Regions from separate parts of the Homo sapiens genome. Here region 1 is linked to region 2. Evidence: promoter capture Hi-C in human tissues and cell types (Jung and others, 2019). All regions are on one chromosome and are shown on one strand. Each heading gives the region's core, a stretch centred on a gene start or on the middle of the fragment in contact. The rest is flanking DNA. Distances are from core to core; before and after follow the strand shown. Region 1 overlaps LRRC66 (leucine rich repeat containing 66). Region 2 holds the start of SPATA18 (spermatogenesis associated 18).

Region 1 (3,846 bases), core at 1,123-3,622, 39 kb after region 2:
CTCGGCTCCCCGCAACCTCCGCCTCCCAGGTTCAAGCGATTCTTCTGCCTCAGCCTCCCAGGTAGCTGGGTTTACAGGCATGTGCCACCAGCCCGGCTAATTTTGTATTTTTAGTAGAGACGGGGCTCCTCCATGTTGGTCAGGCTGGTCTCGAACTCCTGATCTCAGGTGATCCGCAGGCCTCACCCTCCCAAAGTGCTGGGATTAGAGGCGTGAGCCACCGTGCCCGGCCTCAAGTTATTTTTTAAAATGTTCAACAACTATTGAAGTAGTAGCCCACTATAATTCATGAGCAGATAATTATTTGTGTCTGACTATATAGGCACTTGCATTCATCTAAAATAATAATAAATTAGAGAGATCTCAGAAAGCAACAATCAAGCAACCTTTGTAACTATGTACCACATATTTTAAAATGGGGACTATTTCTAGAACCAATGAAAAGTTGCTTTCACTCAGGAAAGCCCATTTGTGTAAGGGTGAGATATCACACGAACTAACCCTGTCTTCAGAGTCAGTTGTGGTGTCACCAATAAGCTTCATGTTGGGAAAATGCCCAAAAGAGGTGCTGGCCAATGCAATTTATAAAACAGAAGCCAGCCATGAATTTAATTTTAATGATGCTTCTACCTTCCTCCCATATTTTTGGAATACAGCATTCATAATTGAAAAACTAGTTTAAAAACATGAAAACAATGGGATCAGTCTCTGGTTAATCTGTCCTACCTTCATCAAGCAGTATTTTTGGAGTGCTCACAGAGTAACTGGAAATGCAGCAGGAACAACATCTTGTTGGGATTCCAGTTAGGTTGATAGACCAAATGTAGCAGCCTCACATTAACCAACTAAGTTCTAGAACCTAAGAGGTAAATGTGTTAGAAATAAGATAAAATAATACCTAACATTTGAAACTGGGGGAATTAAAAAAAATACACAGTGTATTATAAAAAACTAAAGTATATTGTGTTCCTTTATTCATAGAAAATTAAAGATTTCATCCTGATTGCTACTGGATTATGGAATTATCAATAAGCAATGTACTCAAAACTAATTCAGGTTCTAAAGAAACAAAAAGTATATAAGACACTAAACTAAGAAGGCAAGGCCTTTGGCTAACCTACATAATTTGACCACAATAAGATCTGACCTAATGAATCGAATATCTTACCCAGGACCATTCTAGACTCTATTCCAATTCTTAATTGCTCTTTGGACTAACAGCCATAATCCCTGAATATTGTTTTATGTTATCAGGTTATCACACTTGGGAGAGCACTTAAGTTCATAGTACAGAAGGAGTATTTACTAAGTGTAATGTCTGAGTATCCTTTCTGTGGCCTTTTTTTCTGAGAGACAGGTCATTTCTTGGAAATAATAAAACTGCCTCTGGCCACTTAAATGCAAAGGCTAATAAAATTCCTGCCTAGTGTGTCCTTTGTAATCTTTAGAAAGCAGTTCAATAAATAATTCCCTTTCCACAGAGTACCTCTATATTTTCCTCCCAGCATTCAACTCTCCTCTCTTGAAGTATAAAATGTACCCCTGATGTCCAAGCCCCAGCCGTGAATGCACCATACAGCCTCTTTTCACTCATTTGACTACCCTCTGAACATTGGCTTACCAAGCAAAAATATTAAAAGAATACATTTTCCCATTGAGAAGTGCAGTCAAGTACCATGCAAGAGTTTTCTTAAATTTCCCAACTCCATCCTGAGAGACGCTATACAAACCAGGTCTGTACCAGTTCCCTTAAAAAAATAAAATCTTAATTATCTAAAATTGAAAGTAAAGGAAAAGTTTTCATTCAGGAGGTGTAAACTGAACTTCCTGGTCTTTATTCTCATCTCCAGAAGAAGTTTACCTTCCTCTTGGAAAATCTCAGCTTGATATTATGAGGGGAGTTAAATAAGAGGATTCTCTAATAACTGCATTCAAAATCAAAATCACCCTCTCCCCACATGCTTGGGTATGTTCGGGTCCCACTCTTTTTATTTACTCCTTTTTTTTTTCTGTTTTTAGATGGAGCCTCACTCTTGTCACCCAGACTGGAGTGCAGTGGCATGATCTCAGCTCACTACAACCTCCACCTCCCGGGTTCAAGAGATTCTCCTGCCTTAGCCTTCCATGTAGCTGGGATTACAGGTGCCTGCCACCACACCCAGCTAATTTTTTTGTATTTTTAGTAAAGATGGGGTTTCACCATATTGGCCAGGCTGGTTTTGAACTCCTGACCTCAAGTGATCCGCCTGCCTCAGCCTCCCAAAGTGCTGGGATTACAGGCATCAGTCACCGTTCTCAGCCTGTTTACTTGTAATTCTTTTACACATCTTATATTACACTATTTACTTGTTTGTTGACCTTAAACAAGTCACTTAACCTAAAAAAGCTTCCTGGTCCTTATCTTTAACTGAGAATAAGTATATGTATAGGGTAGGTATAAGGTTTAGAGACAGTGTGCATCAAGACTATAACACATAGAGTGATGATACATGTAAAACATCTCTCATAGTGCCTGGCACACAGCAGGTGTTCAAAAGCATTAGTTCCCCTTTAGTGCCACTTGATCGTCCTGAGTCTTTAATTCTATATTTCCTGCCCTGGTCTTTGCTGTAACGGTAACTTCCTTGATTTCAGGCACAATAGATAATTAAAGGGGATTCTCATTCTCTGTCTTCAGATGTTTAGAGTATTCACCAACAGTCTGGGTGCCTCTGTTCATATTTATATAGGTCTGCATAATGTTGGAAGCCTCTGCTCTTCCTTTTTCAGAGCACTTTTTGATCTGTCCTCTGACTCTCTGAACCACACTGACTCATGAAACCATCACCACTATCAAGATAATTAAAACAAAAAGTATATAAGATACTCAACTAAGAAGGCAGAGCCTTTGGCTCACCTACATAATTTGACCACAATAAGATCTGACCTAATGAATCAAATATCTTACCCAGGACCATTCTAGACTCTATTCCAATTCTTATTGCTCTTTGGACTAAAAGCCATAATCCCTGAATATTGTTTTATGTTATCAGGTTATCATACTTGGGAGAGCACTTAAGAAGTTCATAGTACAGAGGGAGTATTTACTAAGTGTAATGTCTGTCACCGCAAAAGCTTCTTCATCCCCCTTTGTAATCTGTCTTTTCCACCCATCCCTTCTCCCCAACCCAGGAAACCGCTGATCTCCTTTCTGTTTCATTATAGATTCACTTGCATTTCTATAATTTTATATAAAAGGAATCATACAATATGTACTTTTATTTTTGGTCTAACGTCTTTTTTCAGCATAATTATTTTGAGACTTATCCATGTCGTTGTATATATTAAAAGTTCATTCCTACTAAAAACAGAATTACAATTCGACCTAGCAAGCCCATTAGTGGGTGTATATGCAAAGGAAAAATAAATCATTCTACAAAAAAGACACATGCACTCATATGTTCATCACAGCACCAATCACAATAGCAACTACATGGAATCAACCTAGGTGCCCATCAACAGTGGATTGGATAGAGAAAATGTGGTACATATACATCATGGTCTCCTACACAGCTCTAAACAAGAATGAAATCATGTCGTTTGCAGCAACATGGATGTAGCTGCAGGCCATTATCCTAAGCAAAGTAATATATTCTCGCTTATAAGTGGGAACTAAATCTTGGGTTCAAACAGACGTAAAGATGGGAACAATAGACACTGGGGACCACTAGAAGGAGGAGGAGTGTGGGAGGAGGGAGACTAAAGCTGAAAAACTACCTATTGAGTACTATGCTCACTACCTGGGTGATGGGATCATTTGTACTGCAAACCCTCAGCATCAGGCAATATACCTGTGTAACAAACCTG
Region 2 (3,606 bases), core at 535-3,034:
TATACATGTTAGAATTTCTTATTCTCAACCTCCTGAGACTAAGTAGTAGGTACTTTTAAAATTAGTTGGGGGGAACCCAAGTCTTTTATGATAAAGAGGTCATTTTAACTTTCCAGAATTCTTAATGGAGAAGGAATGGTCAGCGCTTGTTCTTTAAAAGGGAGCAAAGGACTGAACAGGAAGCACTAGAAAGGAAGGCTAAGGAGAAAGCTGTAGCTGCTCTTTGAGCTCCCCTCCACTTCAGGAGCACTGGTTAAAGGGTGAATGGGGAAGCCTAAGGACCTCATAACAGGCAGGATCTCAGAAACAAGCTAATCTAGGCTCAAAAACTTAAAATCTGAACAGGAAATTTACATATCATCTAGACCAATCTCTGCTATTTCACAGATGAGGTACTAAGACCAAGAGAAGTTAAATAATTTGACTCCGTCATTCAGCTAGTTCTATGCAGAGCCAAATGTAGAAACAAGGGGGGGCTAATTTCCGGTCCACAGTTCTTTTGCCTGGCCGCTCCACTTATTATGTAAGAGGGGAAATCCCTATTTAAGACGGACCGACCGAATGTAAAGCAAATTCAACACTCACCGTTCTATTTGGGGGAAGGGGGGAATTATGGGGAGGCAGGGTGCGAGTAGGGATTAATGAGATTTGAAAAGTGCTCATGGGTTTGGTGACAGAATACTGGCTTCTCACAAATGCCTGGAAAAAGGCCTGAATCCGCCCTGGTGTTGGAACTGTGCCTCAATTTCCAGGCCCACCAGCACGCAAGTGAAACCCGCAACGTTAACAAGTGTCCGTTTCGCTGATTTCTGGGTAAATAACTCCTGGGTGTGTGTTTATACAAATCCATTCTGATACAAACCCTGGGCAGGAGAGGGTTGTAGTAAAAAATAATTCGGGATTGGGGAAGCAGGCGGTGTGGATTGCGCTGGCAAGGGGGATGGGAAAGAGTGGCAGGCATGACCAGACCAGCCGCGGACAGCAGGGCTTCCCTATTGCTAGGTCGCCGGCGTCCTTAGTTACCACTGATTGGAAGCACTCTCCAGTCTCCGCAGCCTAGTGCTGCGCTCCGCAGGCCGCCTGCGCGCCGCCTCCCGAAGCTCTGAGACAAGGGCATGTACACACATGTCCTTCCTTCCCCAGCGATCCCGGTCGAAAGCTGAGATCCTGGTTAGGAATCGCAACCGCGGAGGCTTTGCAAAGTGGCCACCAACTCCAGCCCTAAGAAATCCCCGACAAGGGCTGTGCTGGAACCTATGGGAGGGCGAACCCCGGGGGTTTTTCACCCAGACTCACGTTGTACTCCTTCAGCCAGAAGTCTAGCTTTTCCTGCAACGTTCGTAAAGTTTCGTTTGAGACCAGTCTTTTCAGGTTTTCCGCCATCGCTCACTATTCCTCTCGGCCCCACGCTGCGCGATGGAGACTTGGGGGGACCAGGCGGTGGCCTCCGCAGGACCGTGGGGTGATATGGCGGGAAGGGTGTTCTCTTCTGGGGGGCTCAGAGCGCGGCAGGTGTTTCCATCCTCCCCCTCGGGTCGGACCTGGCCGGGTTCGGGAAGCCAGAGGGGAGGTGCCCTGGGCCGCAGCCGCCGCGCCTCATCCGCCGTCCCGCGCGGTCTCCTGGCTCCCCAGCAGCCGCCTGAGCCCGGCCATAGATACCCTGGCGATTATTAAACAAACCTTGACGTGGACGGGTTGGCTGCCAGGGACGCGCGCGGCCCGCGTCGTGGCAACGCCCGCGCCGCCCCGCCCTGGGTGACAGCCGCGCGCCCCAGGGGTGGACTGAGACGCGCAGCCGCGCGGGCTGGAGGGCAGCAGGGCGTCTACAGCATTCCTCCCCATTCGGGGTTCTGGGTGCCCACGCGTGTCCAGAAAAGCAGAAGTTAAGTCTCTATAGAAGTTTGGGGCTAGGCTCTCAGGAGATCACCTCTTTGGCCCCTTTATTCTTTCGCCTTTCATTCCTTTAATTCTTCATTTGTAGCGCCTTGGGTTTACCTGTATGAAACTTGTAACTAAAATTTCAGTACTTCTTACTTCTAGCTTTTACTTTGTTCCTTGACCCACTGGGTGGGTACCCAAGTTAATAGAGTTTAGCTCCAGGATGTTCACAAATTAAAGTTAATCCCTCAGGTTTGGATAAGATTTGGCAGTATGTATTTTAGTACTTTTTTTTTTAGAGTCATTGAGCACTCTAAAGCTTCATTTAATTCTGAATTCTCTAATTGGGACTTTCTTGACCTAGTTTGGCACTATTTCAAAAGTGTGTATTCTGCTACAGAAACAGGTTCAACTACTTAGGAAACCATTTCGACCATCTTTAAGCGCTTTCGAAGCAAGCTCTTTTATATACCATCAAAAAATGTGCTGATTATAAATCATTCCTATCCATTCATTAAAACAGCGGTGGGGAGCAGAGCCTCAGCTGGTTAGCTAGCTAGTTTAACTTAGTTTCATCTCTGTAGGTACTTGAAAATCTGTGAACACTGCATATATTCAAGTATTGTAAAATCAAGAATTTTCACCACCTCTCATTTTTTATTTCTCTTGATTACAGTGGCTTTACTATCTGCTAATGAAAATGAAAGGCTCAGTTTTGGAGCCTGTGTTCCTACTATTTTCTGTAGACCACAAAATAAGGACTATAGGGGTATAACATGTTATTTGATTGGAGTAGAATAATAATTTCTAATGTTAAAAATACCCACTCAACAAAACAGCTAAATATTCATTAAACAACTTCATATATATATATATATATATATATATATATATGTAAAATGAATTGAGAAAAACTTCAAATTTCTCAATTTGGACCTAATAATTACATATTTCTACAGGCATTTGGAATCTTTGAACAGTCCCATTTACTTATTCATAAAAACCCATATTGGAACATTTATGTCAGATAAATTAGAGGTAAAGGATTTTTCCTTGCTGTGAGCACCTTAATTAGCCTGTAATCCTTGGTTTCATCATCTGTAAAAGGAAAATAATTCTCTCATAGGATTATTATGAAACTTAGTAAGATAATTCATGTATTTAGTACAATGCTTGGCAAAATGCAGTAGCAATTGCTCTAGTAATTGCTGTTTATTAAATATAAACTAATACTGGCCTACATTTGCTATTATTAAGAATGTGGATTAGTATGTTTATATTTAATAAAGAAAACTAGTTGTAAACAATCTAAACCTCCAACAATAGGGTAATGGTTAAGCAAATAATGAAATGTTGCACACTAAAAATCTTGTTGTTGTAGAATATATACTATCTACAAATTTTCACTATAACGAAAAAGGCAGAACACTAAATTGTATACACTGTGTTAAATTACACAATGTGAACCCAAGGTATAATTGTGGGTTATTTTAATTGCTCTTTTATATTTTTCTGATTTTTTCAAGTTTCTATCATGAATATGAATTGTTTGTATGAAAACTTATTCAGAAAAAAGTTACCCCAAACAGTTACTAACATGGTTTGGCTGAGTCCTTGCCAAAATCTCATCTTGGATTCCACGTGTTGTGGGAGGGGTCCAGTGAGAGGTAATTGAACCATGGAGTCAGGTCTTTCCTGTACTATTCTCGTGATAGTGAGTAAGTCTCA

Evidence for each region. Contacts are between HindIII fragments. The study calls those that stand out against the background at their distance.
Region 1: a fragment that was not itself captured here is called in contact with the fragment with the promoter of SPATA18 in region 2 in 2 of the 25 tissues and cell types used here (adrenal gland and bladder).

Annotation. Positions count from the first base shown.
Region 1 is chr4:52,010,358-52,014,203 of GRCh38, reverse strand. The region is part of intron 2 of LRRC66 (leucine rich repeat containing 66); the gene reads left to right. Among named protein-coding and RNA genes, the nearest start is that of LRRC66, 8.1 kb to the left of the region's middle. The HindIII fragment of the contact is 4,965 bases long and covers 1-3,846 here.
Region 2 is chr4:52,049,482-52,053,087 of GRCh38, reverse strand. It overlaps SPATA18 (spermatogenesis associated 18), which reads right to left and starts at 1,784. Exons shown (of 13, transcript NM_145263.4): 1 at 1,297-1,784. The coding sequence starts at 1,383. RefSeq lists enhancers at 992-1,341, 1,134-1,633, 1,634-2,135 and a silencer at 1,512-1,811. The HindIII fragment of the contact is 4,960 bases long and covers 1-2,923 here.